Regions from separate parts of the Homo sapiens genome. Here regions 1, 2, 3 and 4 are each linked to region 5. The links are contacts of gene promoters, found by promoter capture Hi-C in blood cells and fetal thymus (Javierre and others, 2016). All regions are on one chromosome and are shown on one strand. The core of a region is centred on a gene start or on the middle of the fragment in contact, and the rest is flanking DNA. Distances in the headings are between cores, read along the strand shown.

Region 1 (2,700 bases), core at 14-2,513, 250 kb before region 5:
AAGTAGAGAAATTTATAACACTGAACTAGTTATTTCTTAATTCCTTGTCTGTAAAATGGATTTACATTTGCCTCTTTCTGTGAATACTCTGAGAATGATTTAATATACAGATATTTTAATGTTATTTCAGCATAGTTATTTGTAGTGATATATTTCTTCAAAGTATGAATAGTATATGTCTCATTTGATCCTAATATTAAACTTATAAATATGCATTATAAACTTAGCAAATAGGGATACAATTTATTGCTTGGCTTGAAATCAAAATATCGTACCTCTGCATTATCTGTATATTTATACCTATGGAAGATGCTTTGGGATATGGATGCCATTTCGCTGATATTTACTTTTACCTCTTGCCATTTCTGTAACGTTTCAAGAAAACTGTAGAGAGCAATGGCATACCCAATGTCTCATTATAGTTAATGAAATATTCTTTGTATTAGGCTGAAAGGTGTGTGACTAATATTGTAACAAAGTAATTTTTAAAATTCATCATTCAGACATCAGAAAAACTTCAGCACATTTATTTGTCTAATTAACAAACTTTTATTTTTGCTTCAGATTAAAAGATGACCTTAGTCATTTAATAAATTATTGGAACCAACTTTTTGTTTTACTTTTTTCCCCATACATATTCTGCTTACATATGAGACCTACTTTTTGATAAAACATGTTACTTCCAACTTAAATTTAAGAGCTTACCTAACATGACATGTGGTATTCTTCTAGTGTGAATTTTACTTTCAACAAAACTGTCATTTATTACTAAGCTTAGCTCTATATCAAAGTACACTGAGTTAATTGCATTGTGTAATTTTATTACTTAATGTAAGAATTACCATATATTGAGCACCTTCTGTGATAGACACTTTATTTGCATTATTTTTTTTAATTTTTTTTAAATTTCTTTATATTAAAATATTAATCATGTACAAGAATGTATGTATTATACACATACAGTTTAAAGAATAATAAAACACACATTTACCCATCACCCAACTTAAGAATCAGAACCTTTGACATTGCTAATGTATTTCTTCTTGATCATATGTACCTCTCCCCAAAAGAGGGGAAATTTTGAGTTCGTCATTTCTGTATTTTTCAAAAATTTTCAGTTAATTTAAGTATTGTGGGATCAAAGAGTTTATTTTCTTTTTCTTTTTTTTTTTTTTTTTGCAGTTGCAAGATTTAATAGAGCTCCCATAACAAAGGGAGGGGACCCAAAGAGGGTAGCCATTGGTGGCTCGAATGCATGAGTTTATATCCCGATCATTGTCCTTCCCGCTGTACTCTCAGGCAATAAATTATTGGCTATTTCTTTACCTCCTGTTTTTGCCTAATTAGCATTTTAGTGAGCCCTCTTTACTACCTGATTCGTCGGGTGTGAGATAAGTTGCAAGCCCTGTGTTTAAAAGTGAATGTGGTCAGCTTCCCAGCTAGGCTTAGGGATTCTTAGTCGGCCTAGGAAATCCAGCTAGTCCTGTCTCTCAGTCCCCCCTCTCAACAGGAAAACCCAAGTGCCATTGAGGAGGTTGGCCGACGACCGCTCTAACTGCTTCCTGCTGAACTGGGGTGTAGTAGGGTTTGTGCAGTTGAGATTTCCTCAGGAGGGGTGCCTTCGATGTCATTAACATCAGAGCATGGGCTAGCAGGCCGGTCCAGGGGTCCGCGGTAGATCTTAGTCATGGACTGCATCAGGTGCTCCATTTGAAGAACTATTTATGGTTTTACAGCTTCGATTCTGGAAGAGACAAGCTTAACAAGGAGGTTAAAGATACAGGGATTGAAATGTATAGCCTGCAGTGCAGGGGATTATTTCTTTGGCACACTTCACAGTGCACCATTGGTTACCTTTCCATTGGTTAGCTGCAGGCAAAAGTATTTTTCCTTCTTCGGTGGCTAGCCATCCTGAGGGGAGGAAACTGTGTCCTCATGAGGTTCCCCATTCTATTTCTTCTTCTGAGTACTGGGGCTTTGTTTCCCGGAGGGCATTACCCCATAGTAGGGTTCCTTCTATAAGCATTTCTAATGGAGGGTCCTGCCTTGCAGCTCTTTTTGCTTCAATATCTGCTTGGCAGTTCCCTTCTATTTCCCTTTTCTTTCCTTTCTGATGACCCCAGCAGTGTAAGACTTCCACCTCTTTAGGTTTCTGTACTGCCAGTAATAATCTCCTAATGGCTTCCTGATGTGTGATAGGTGTTCCCTCGGAAGTTAGGAATTCCCTTTCTCTGCATATTGCCTCATGGGCATGGAGGACTAGGTGAGCATACTCAGAGTCTGTATATATATTTACCCTTTTCCTTCTCCTAATTCTAGTGCCCCAATGAGGGCTATTAGTTCTGCCAGCTAAGCACTAGTTCCTGGAGTGAGGGGATTACTTTCAAATATTCCATTATCACTGACCACTGCATACCCCGCTTTTTGAGGTCCTTTTTCTACAAAGGAACTTCCATCAGTATACAAGTTGAGGTCAGGATCAGTCAAGGGAACCTCTAGAAGGTCCCCTCGAGTGGCATAGGTTTGAGAAATTATTTGTTGACAGTTATATTCTATCTTCATTGTCTGGAAGAAATGTGACTGGGTTAAGAGTTGCACAAGTGCACAGTTGCAGCACTGGCCTTTCAAGTAATAGAGCCTGATATTTAAGTAAACGGTTGTCTGACAGCCACAAGTCTCCTTTAGCAGTGAGTATGCTGT
Region 2 (2,789 bases), core at 42-2,541, 250 kb after region 5:
GGGATGCCATTGAATGCTTTTGCACAGGGGAGTGACACTACTGAATTTGCATTTTAAAGAGATTCCCAAAGGCTGCCTCAAGGATGCAGAAAAACAAGCAAATTGAGAGGAAGATCAGATACTGATCGGATTACAGTTATTCCTTGATGTACAAATCACTGTCCTGCCTCAGTTGTAGCCTGGTCCCAATAGTCCCGCATAGGCTACTTCATGGGCATGTGCCCTGTGCAGCTGCACAACGTTCCATTCTCAGAAAGAGCTCACACTTGGTTTAATGCTCTGCTGTTGCCATCTTGAAATTCTTAACTTTTCAACTTTGCACTGGGACCCACAAATTACGTATCTGGTCTTGGTCTCATATATGTATTTTTGGCCAGCTAGGGCATCAGTAGCCTTTTCTCCAATAGCTAATAGGACTTTTTGGATACTCCTAGTTAAAAGCTGAAGTTCCCAAAGGTCTGCTGGTTTCTTAGTGTTAAGCTTCAATGGGCTAGTGTCTTCCTGTCAGCCTCCTTTATACTGAGCTTCCATGGGAACCTGAGCATTTGAAGATGTTGTAGTATGGGGTTCTTATGCATCTGGAGACGTTTTTCCAAATAATATCGTCCATGATTCTATGGTCCTGGACTAACTTATGGAATTATAATCCAGAAGATGCATGATTCTGAAACACCATAGATTTAGGGTCAGCCTTATTGGAATCTATTGGGTCTCTTTTGAATACAGATACCTGGATCAACCCTAGATCTACTGAGTTAGAATCTTTGGGACTAGAGTCTGGGGATCTGTATTAATAAAAATCTTCATGGATAATTTTGATCTGCAACCAGGATGGAGAATCATGGCTATAAAAGTAGAAAAAAAGGACGTGAAGAAAATGGGCCAATATGCGGTCACCAGGGCTTTGGTGATCTGTGAAGAGCTATTCCAGGGGGCATTCAACACAGAATTCAACACTGTCCAAGGTTTTAAGTCCGACAGATTCAGAGAATTAATTTTGTGCTTGCAAGGACATAGCTTTTTCTTCCTGAAGGCAGATCTACAGGAAAAGTCCATTTATAATTGGAAAGTTTCTGGTAAGCACAGAATCACACAGCAAGTAGAGTTGTCTGTTGCATCTGTAAGTCACGTGCAATGCACCAGACAGAAGCGAGGCTTTAAAAGGCAGCATTATGTACCAGATGCCTACTTTCTTTTGCCCACTCGGGACTCTAGATTCGTGACTTCTATAGTAAACTGAGTCTGGATAGCCCAGGTGCCTCCATGTAACAATATTTAGGGGAGTTATTTGGTGACTTTAAATAGATGACACAAGGATTGGTTAAAATTGACTCTGAAATGAGAACTACATATAGTTTAGTCCACATTAAATTAAACTGAAATATATGCAACAGATCTGCTCTATTGAGTGGAGTTTTCATATCAGATCTAGGTTTCTCTGTGTAATGGTGATAATCATTAATCATGGTGAGTGATCTGGTCTGGCCTGTCTTCTTAGATTGCCCCCATTCTGCTGATACCCGTGGTGTCCCGGAATGTTTTGTTCAAGGCTATTGTCTTTGGTTCCAGTATCTTATTTCTATTAGCAGAGAGTTTTTTGTTTCTGTTTCCACCAGTGCTCAAAGTTCATTTGAAGTCCAGTCTCATGAAGGCTTCACTTCCTTGCAATGTCTTCGGTGAAATGCTGGGTGCTTGTTTTACTTAATTAACCTGGGTGGCTCCTTTATTCATACTGGGGCTAACCTCACCCATCTTTCCTTCTTTTGCTGTCTTTAAGGAACTTTCCTCTGGTGCCATCTAGTGGCCAAAGCAGGGGCTGCTAAATAAAGAAAAAAACTTGGCAATAGGCAAACTGGGACGGATGACAGGGTGACATAGGTAAAAACAATAACAAGCTGCATTTCAGAAGAACCCCTTGAGGTAGCCTTGACATACTAATTCCTTCGTTTATTACAAATATGAATTGTGCACTTACCATATGCTAGCAAGGTACTAAGCACTTTAGAGCTTGATAATGTGATACTGAAAGCACACTGTATAACAAATGTAGAGCTCAGAGGAAAAAAGGAATTATCAACCCAATTTTTTAAAATGAGAAAATTGAAGCTTAAAGAGGCAGTGGAATTGAATGAGCTTATTCTCATTCCCTTTTTCCCTCTCACCCTCTCATCTCTCTTTTCTACTGCATAAAATATGAATAAAACAGGTACATGCATAACTTATTCTATGGAGCATTCAAGACCCATTGGGCAGGTATTCTATGGGTCTTCAGTTGTTTACATATTTACTTGCAGTGTAGTTCATTTTGATGGCTGGCCTGGAATATTACTTAATAATACCAGATAAATATGTGTCCCATATAAATACATTTTTAGGTAAGTAGAGTTTATTACTTAAAACAAACATATTTTTGTATATCAACTATTCTGGATGAAAATTTATCTCTGGTATTTCAGAGTGCCTTGCTTCCTTGATAAAATATGGTATCCCAAAAGTCTTAGTGCCTTAGAGAAGTGTCAACTTCAGAGGTAAAAATGTTATAAACTTATTTAAAAAAGCATTGGGAGTTTGATTATTTCACAGTTGAGGACATTCAGGCACAGGGACGTGACTTTCTCGAGTCCAAACAGATAGTAAATGACAGAAGCAAGACATTAAAGCAATGTTTTTGAATTCTAGTCTAGTGTTTTTTTTTTTTTTTTTTTTTTTTTTTTGCGCTGGAACTATTGACTAGATAGAATGGAAAGTGAAAGAGGGAAAGATGCTGTAGATGCTAGAAAAGTGAGAAA
Region 3 (2,700 bases), core at 66-2,565, 220 kb before region 5:
ATTTTGCAAAATTAAGGTAATAAAAAGTATATTTACATCACAATTTACTGTAAATAACTAATTACTTTTAAGTGCCTCATGTAAAGCCAGAAAAATGACTAGGAGCAATATTTTCAGATTGTAGCAATTTGATATTTGGGAATATAGGCCTTGAAACAAGGGACTAAGAAGTCACACTTGTTAATACTTTCATAACAAGTTGTTAATTTGGTGGTTTTTAAATATAGGAAAAATTATTGGAATCAGATAAGCAAAGGAAACAATTGACAGAAGAGCTCCAGAATGTGAAACAAGTAAGTATATGTATTGTGTATATATGTGCTCGTGTGTGTGTGTGTGTGTGTGTGTGTGTGTGTGAACATATGAGGTATAATTATAAAGCAGTGGTTCTTTACAATATCCCAGAGCTTCCTGATACATATTACATAATACAAAATAGCACAGAGCTTAAAAGCAATCACTTTTGGAGGCTGTACCTATGCTAAAGTCTTGCTACTATTGCTCAAAACAATGTTAAAACCTCTTTGAAATTTCTTTGAAAAAAACATATCCATAGACCAAAATAACCAATCTCATTACTTCTCCATTGTTTTTTCTTTTCTTTCATTTCCCCTTTTTTCTTTTTCTTTTTTATTTTGTTACTCATACTTCATTTTACTAAAGAACAAAAAAGTCATCAAGGCAGAGCATTTTTTACATTTATTTGTTAATAATAAAAAGCAAATATTTATTTTCACTTTGCATTATTCTTCAAAGAATTTGAGGTAGCTCACTATAAAACAAATATATGACAATATCATAAAATGAAAACCCAAATGACAAAATATAAATAAGAGAACATTGTTAGAGATCAACAGTGATCACCTGATTTTGAATCTCCCTCACACAGTCCCCCTAGAAAACATAAAATCAACAAAGAAAGCAGATAGAACCATACAGGACCCATATTTTGAATATGACTATGTGACAAAAAAACACCACAGCCTTTAAAGTACATATAAATACAACAAGAAAAATAATAATTCCAACAAAACTTCTGAAGCTTGCCTTTACTGAAACCTGGAATACAGAGAACAGAGGAGGCAAGGCTTGAAAAATTCTGAAATAAAGAGTAGAGAGAAACTATGAATTAGATGAAGAACAAACAAAATCACCCCCAGAAAGAGAAAAGGTAAACATAAATGCCAAAATACTGGCCGTATGTCAAGACTTGGTGGTTCTTAGCACTAGCTACAAAAAAAGAGACTTCAAGGTATGAATGCAATCAAAAATGGCAGCCTTGAAGAATCATTGTTTCTGAGGAAGAACCAGATCAATAGAGAATGGATAGAATTCCTTGGAGACTTCGCAATGATAGGAAAGAAGGAAATAAGAAGGGAAAATTAAGGAGCTTATAGAAATGAAAGCAGAACACAACTTATTAATCCACCCACCCTACCCTATGACCATCAAAACAAGATCCATAGAAGAAACTGCACAGAAGAGAGTGCTCTTGAACTAAGAACTTTTTCTGTGAAATAAAAAAGTATAGAACAAAAATTCTATCTCCATCATTATAAAACGACTGAAAAAGTCAGATGATATCAATGAAAGCTTTCCTCCTGATGAAAACTTTCCAAAACAATTTAACCACAAAACTTAAGAAAAATGTAACGTCACACTCCATACTCAAGGGAATTTCCTCAAATAAGCATTTGGGCTATGAAAAACACATCTCAAATGAGAAACTTAAAAAATAGTAATAATAGATATTGATCACCCCCAAAAAAATCAGGAAAAAGTGAAATGAGAGTTGATAAAACTTAGGAAAGAAGGAAGAGACAAAATCCTATCAGAAATGAAAACTAAATTACAAGTTGCTCCAGGAAGAATATAATCAAGTGAAAAGGCAATGAAGAAAACAAGAAAAGCAACTAGGAAAGTGAAAATATAATCAAGAAGTAAAAGAGTTTCTTAAAGAAATCAATCAAAATAACTGAACAGCCTAATACTTAGAACTATAATCCAAGAAAACTTTCTATAATTAAAACAAGACCTGAATCTAATATAGGTACTGGGGAAATCTGACCTGGAAAGATTACTGTACAATATATTCTAGTAAAATTATTAGACTTTAGAGGAAAATAAATGCACACTGCCTCCAAGTAAAAAGATTAAGCAACTTATGAAGGCAATAGAATTAGACCAGCATTGGGTTTCTCAAAACAACATGCAAAGTAAGGCAATAGTGGAACAACATTTTCAGGACATGAAAGGAAAGAAAGAAAGTATACAAAAATGTTTTATATAGCCAACCTGACTTTAAAATATCAAGGCCATAGAAAACAGTTTGTGATATACCAGTACTAAGGGAATATTTCACACATGATATTCCTGAAGACCTTCAGATAGGATGAGTTTTATCCAACTAAAAAATGCCTAAAATAACTTTGGAAAATGTTCCCAAATGGTGAGAACTTCATATATTTTATTGTACAGGTGAGACTAAAATGAGTCAGTGCATGGATGAAAAAAATAGCATGAACATTACATGTGTTAACAAAAGTCAAAAGATGCAAATTTTTTAATGGGAGGATAAGAAAGAAAAAAGAGGAAAACAGAATACATCATTTTGTTATATAAGCAAAGCGTAGCAGTCAATAAATATTTAAAACTGATATCAGATAAAAATTAGGTAAAAATAGAGGAGATAGCAAGCAC
Region 4 (2,700 bases), core at 126-2,625, 240 kb before region 5:
GAAACTTGTGGGAACCCTATGGCCCTTCCTATCGCCCAAGATACTAGAGTACGTCCCTTGAGTATCATAAGGCAAGCACAAAGGAAGTGAAATAATGGACTTTGGAGACTCAGAAGGGGGATGGTGTGTGGGGCAAGGGATAAAAAACTACATATTGAGTACAGTGAACACTACTCGGGTAAACAGGTAAACTAAAATCTCAGACTTCACCATTAATACAATTCATCTATGTAATCAAAAACTACTTGTATCCCAAAAGCTATTGAAATAAAAAAAGAAAAAAGTTGAACTCACACTTTCTGATTTGAAATATGTAGTAAGCCTTACTGTAGAGTGAAAAAAGCAAGTTTTAGAAAACTATCTGTAGCATTTTTATGAAGCTAAAAAACCAGTAAAACAAAGTAACATGTTAGGAATACATATGTATGTGATAAAACCATTTTAAAATAAACAGATCAAGAATGATAAAGAAGAAATCAATAGTTCAGAATTCATTAGTATGGTTACCTCTGGTGAAATACCATATCCATATTGTGATATGAATCCAACAGTATTCACAGTTTTATGCTGCTTAAGTGGATTCATAGGTGTTTTATTGTCCTACTTTAAAACTCATGTTTTTTTACATATATGCTTTTAGTATATACCAAATATTATATAATAAAAAATTCATGGGAATAGTAAATCAAATATATGATAAGTCTTACCTCTGGGAATAAGTTCAAAAGGGGTTTTTATATGTTTTGGTTACATTCAAAAACTGAAGTAAATATAGTTGACTGCTAAGCTTTAATGAAGCAAGATAGTAGATATCTATTACTTTATTATAGTATGTCCTATAACTTCTGTATTAATATTTTATAATTTTTTAAAAAATCCAGATAATTCTTACAGCTGCTGAAGTCATTGGCATAAAGCAAAGAGCACTAGCACTTTGTAGCATTGTGTTCCATAGTGAAAAATTGTGTATAATCTAAATGATTATCAGAAGGAGAATGCTTTAAAAAAAGTTCACTTCAGACAGTGTACAAACATAACAATTTTAAAAAGCATGCAATATTTGTAAAATGTACAGAATAGAAAGGAGTAATATATTGATAATTATTAACACTATAGTGTGACAATTTTTGCAAAAAATCCACAATTTATATAAATTTATAGGTACTATATTCATAGAAAAAAACCTGAAAAATTAGACACCAATTGTTAATATGGCAATTGTCTTCAGAGCAGTGGTTCTCAAGGGCAGGGCTGCAGTTTTTCTTCTTGGGACATTTGGCAGTGTCTGGAGACATTTTTGGTTGTCACAGCTGGAAGATAGAGACCAAATTCAAAATCAGTAAAGATACTTCTTAAAACCTCATGTATGAAAATTTAAAACATATTTTAAATAATTTGTGAGTCAAAAACATTGCTAATAAACATGTAAATGATGTTTAATTGCACTTGTAATTAGGGGAATTCAAATTAACAAACAGCATACTATTTCAAATACAACATTGACAAAATAAGAGTGGAAACAGCAGATGCTGTTAAATCTCAAAAAGGAAAAAAAAGAATGTAGAAAAATAGAAATGCTTATTCACTACTGGTGTGCATAAATTAATGAAGCCAGTTTGGAGAACAATTCAACAATATCTAATAAAATTGACCATATGTCCCCTATGGCTTAGCACTTCCTTTTCTAGGGATATAATGTAGAGAAATTTTCACACATTTTTACAAAGAGACATGTATAATGTTCTGTAATTTAAAAAAAAAAGCAGATTGGAGTAGTTATAAAAGCCTGTTAATCAGGGAATGGATAATAAATTACAATAAATTCATACAACGGATTACTGTTCACAGTTAAAATAAGTGAACTAGTTTTGCAGACAATATTGAGCAATTATGAAATCATAAAATTGAGGTAAAAATAAAAATAATTTGTAGAGTTACTCTTTAAGATTATGCTTTTGAGGTAAAAGCTTAAATGCACAAAATAAGAGTACATATTATTAGGGGATACTTGCTTATGTAGTAAATGTCATTAAATTAAGACCAGGAAGAATACTTAGGATAGTAGTTCCTGCTGAGGAATAATTTATAAAAACTTTTAACCGAATATATAGTTTTATTTATTGAAAATATATACATAAATTTTAAGTACATATCAATGAGTAATTGATGATAGTGAGTATATAGGTGTTCTTTGTATTATTATTTTTTGTGTTTATATTTGAAACATTTTTATAACTGAAGAGAAAAAAATACAGAAGCTAAAAATCATTATGCCATGTTATACAATGCAAATACTTGACTACTATACGAGATAAGCAGATGATGCTAGACTAAGCTTAAGAATCATTTTTGAAAGAATCTTTCCTGATATTCTTTCTCCATTCTTCTTTCATTGTTCCCAAATTGCTCACTTACAGATTAACCAGTTGCTTTGTGTATTAATATACCCTATACATACTTCTATTAAATTATGTGTTTTACTTATTTCTTTACAGTTGTTCTCACCCTTGAGACCGTAAACTCTTTGGGGTGAGAGACTATATTTCATTTATCTATCACCTATGCATAGTTTAGTGGCTGACAAATAGTAGGCACCAAATAAATTATTTGATGAATGAATTACTAAATGATTGAACGAGATTCTAAAGGAGGAAGAAATATGTAAGAGATAATTACCAATACTAAACTTTGCCTACATTT
Region 5 (2,700 bases), core at 5-2,504:
TCACCCTGCCAGGGAACTCTGAACCCCGCTGCGCCGCCGCTCCTGATCTCTGGGGTTTCAGGCGCCTCCTCTCTTACAACCCTCTCCTGGGGAAGTAAACCCCATCAAGACACCACCACATCCTTCCCCAGCGACTCAGCCTGGGGTCACAAAGGCCTTTACGTCCCACTGAAAAACGGTTTTCTTTCATTTGTGCCCATTCGTTCTTGCAGCCCCTTCCCCAGATCGAAGACTAGGGTCTTAGTAAGGAGAGGTAAGGAGGGAGGGGAAGAACCTGCCTGGCCCCCCGCGGAGCTCTGCAGGGGGCGTCGCGGCTGCACGCCAGCGCCCGCACCACCCCAGGCGGGAAGGGAGTTATCACACAGGGGGTCGCACGCAGATCTCGGGGACCGTGGGTGCCACGAGGTCAAACTGGCAGAGGGAGACGCTGCAGCTGCTGTAACAGCAAGGAAAGCCGAAGCCCCCTTAGGGGATACTTTACAAAATTATTTTAATCACCGTGCAAACCTAATAACTTGACCCAAGCGCAATCACCTGTATTCACCCAGAGTAAATATTCCTAAAATCCCGTTCAGTGTGTCTGTGTCTCTCCCGCCTCTTTCCGTTTCAGGCAAATGTCTACCCCCCCTCTCCCCCCACCGTTAACACCTCTCTGCAGCGTGGGAAACAGTGCCCAGCAGCTCAGTCCTCCGCTTCCCGCTCTGCTTTTTGCATCCCATTCGGACTTATAGGAAGTAGTTATTTTTTGGTGGTGGTGGAAACTGGGCAAGAAAGAAGACGCTAAGCTTGGCCGGGGCCAGGAGAAATATTGAGAAGGGTCGTTACCTTCCATCCGATCTAAACCAATCATCTCAAACTTGGCTACTCTTTGGAACCACCTGGGGAGCTTTAAAAATTATGGACGCCCTGATAGCACCGCAGAGGTTCTGATCTAATTGATCTGGGATGCGGCCTGGGTATCGCGATTTTTTTAAAACTCCTCAGGTTATTCCCAGCTTGAAAACTATGGATATAAATTTCTCATTCCTCTTCCCACCCAGACCAAAAAAAAAAAAAAAAATCTAAGCCTAAGTTGATGGCCCAGGGAATCTGGCACCTGCTCCCCTGCAACCAGCCAGTGCTGCAAGGTCCCCGAAAATCGGCGCGAGCGGCGACGCTAAACACGCGGCGGCGGGGCGAGCGGGCCAGGCGGGCGGTGCCGCGCGTGGCCCCGCCCCCGCACGCCTATGGGCGCGAGGTGCGGGCCCTGACGTCACTCTTGTCAGGGCCGCGGCACATGGGCGGCCGGATGCGCTGAGCCCGGCGCTGCGGGGCCGCGGAGCGCTGGGGAGCAGCGGCCGCCGGCGCGGGGAGGGGGGTGGGGTGGGACGGCGCACCGCCTCCGGTGCTGGCACTAGGGGCTGGGGTCGGCGCGGTGTCTTCTGCCCTTCTGCAGCCGTCGACATTTTTTTTTCTTTCTTTTTTTCAATTTTGAACATTTTGCAAAACGAGGGGTTCGAGGCAGGTGAGAGCATCCTGCACGTCGCCGGGGAGCCCGCGGGCACTTGGCGCGCTCTCCTGGGACCGTCTGCACTGGAAACCCGAAAGTTTTTTTTTAATATATATTTTTATGCAGATGTATTTATAAAGATATAAGTAATTTTTTTCTTCCCTTTTCTCCACCGCCTTGAGAGCGAGTACTTTTGGCAAAGGACGGAGGAAAAGCTCAGCAACATTTTAGGGGGCGGTTGTTTCTTTCTTATTTCTTTTTTTAAGGGGAAAAAATTTGAGTGCATCGCGATGGAGAAAATGTCCCGACCGCTCCCCCTGAATCCCACCTTTATCCCGCCTCCCTACGGCGTGCTCAGGTCCCTGCTGGAGAACCCGCTGAAGCTCCCCCTTCACCACGAAGACGGTGAGCGCTGCCGCGGCCCCGCTCCGGGAAGGGACGACGCTCCGGGGGTCCCCCTCCGCGGCCGGGCACGCCCGCTGGAGCATCCCCCAACCCCGCTCCCGCCCTGTCCCGCGGCGCCCCGGCCCCGCGCTGATGAAATTGAGGAGCTCACCCAGCACCCTTCCTCCCCTTCCTCCTCCTCCATGAAAGGGGAGGGACCCCTCCTGAGCTACATTTAAAAGAGCTTCGGGCACCCGGCCTCCCTGGGTCCCGCTCCTGCGGCGCGGGTGGGAGGTGTAACTTGACAGGTCAGGATCGTTCCCTAGAACGAGGCACACCCGCACGCAGAGCGAGCCCGCCTGCGGAGGGCAGAGCCTCCCGGGCTGGGGAGGAGAAACCCTGGGGCCTGGTTCTGTGCGGGGCAGGGGGCGGGGGTCGGCTTGAGGGAGGGGGTTTCACTGCGTAGCCTGGGTTTTGGGGTTGTGTTACAGCTTCTGTTACTGGTTAGTATTTGGAACTCACGAGGTGTGAGAGAAGACTCGTTTTCTTCTGGTGAAGGGTAGCTGAGAAAGCGGGGTGGGGGCTGGGGCCGGTGGGGGGAGTGGTCTCTCGGCGGGAAGCCGTGCACGCCTCCAGCGTTGACACTTTCCCGGTGCACTTTTTCTGGTGGGAGGGGAGAGCGGAGCAGGCTCACGTGTAACCGCGCAGGAGCCTCCTCTGGCTTGAGCCCTTTCTTGGTAAGTCCCAAACCTTCCCAAGACAACCTTGGCCTTAGCAGTAGAGGAGGGGTACGTGTGATGAGGCCCCAAACCCGGCTAAGTGATGCC

Evidence for each region. Contacts are between HindIII fragments. The CHiCAGO score rates a contact against its expected background, and 5 or more counts as called.
Region 1: a contact is called between a fragment that was not itself captured here and the fragment with the promoter of HLF in region 5, in 4 of 17 cell types (total CD4 T cells, non-activated CD4 T cells, fetal thymus and 1 more). The highest score is 7.4, in total CD4 T cells.
Region 2: a contact is called between a fragment that was not itself captured here and the fragment with the promoter of HLF in region 5, in 1 of 17 cell types (erythroblasts). The highest score is 6.0, in erythroblasts.
Region 3: a fragment that was not itself captured here is called in contact with the fragment with the promoter of HLF in region 5 in 10 of 17 cell types (total CD4 T cells, non-activated CD4 T cells, megakaryocytes and 7 more); the score reaches 8.2 in total CD4 T cells.
Region 4: a fragment that was not itself captured here is called in contact with the fragment with the promoter of HLF in region 5 in 4 of 17 cell types (total CD4 T cells, fetal thymus, total CD8 T cells and 1 more); the score reaches 7.3 in total CD4 T cells.

Annotation. Positions count from the first base shown.
Region 1 is chr17:55,010,348-55,013,047 of GRCh38, forward strand. The region is part of intron 8 of STXBP4 (syntaxin binding protein 4); the gene reads left to right. Among named protein-coding and RNA genes, the nearest start is that of STXBP4, 43 kb to the left of the region's middle. The HindIII fragment of the contact is 985 bases long and covers 772-1,756 here.
Region 2 is chr17:55,512,401-55,515,189 of GRCh38, forward strand. It overlaps a transcript of SMIM36 not described here. Among named protein-coding and RNA genes, the nearest start is that of SMIM36, 2.3 kb to the left of the region's middle. The HindIII fragment of the contact is 1,626 bases long and covers 479-2,104 here.
Region 3 is chr17:55,046,862-55,049,561 of GRCh38, forward strand. STXBP4 (syntaxin binding protein 4) reads left to right here. Exons shown (of 18, transcript NM_178509.6): 12 at 228-293. Among named protein-coding and RNA genes, the nearest start is that of STXBP4, 79 kb to the left of the region's middle. The HindIII fragment of the contact is 551 bases long and covers 1,041-1,591 here.
Region 4 is chr17:55,027,299-55,029,998 of GRCh38, forward strand. The region is part of intron 8 of STXBP4 (syntaxin binding protein 4); the gene reads left to right. Among named protein-coding and RNA genes, the nearest start is that of STXBP4, 60 kb to the left of the region's middle. The HindIII fragment of the contact is 1,180 bases long and covers 786-1,965 here.
Region 5 is chr17:55,263,706-55,266,405 of GRCh38, forward strand. It overlaps HLF (HLF transcription factor, PAR bZIP family member), which reads left to right and starts at 1,255. Exons shown (of 4, transcript NM_002126.5): 1 at 1,255-1,894. The coding sequence starts at 1,780. RefSeq lists a silencer at 1,059-1,378. The HindIII fragment of the contact is 7,530 bases long and covers 784-2,700 here.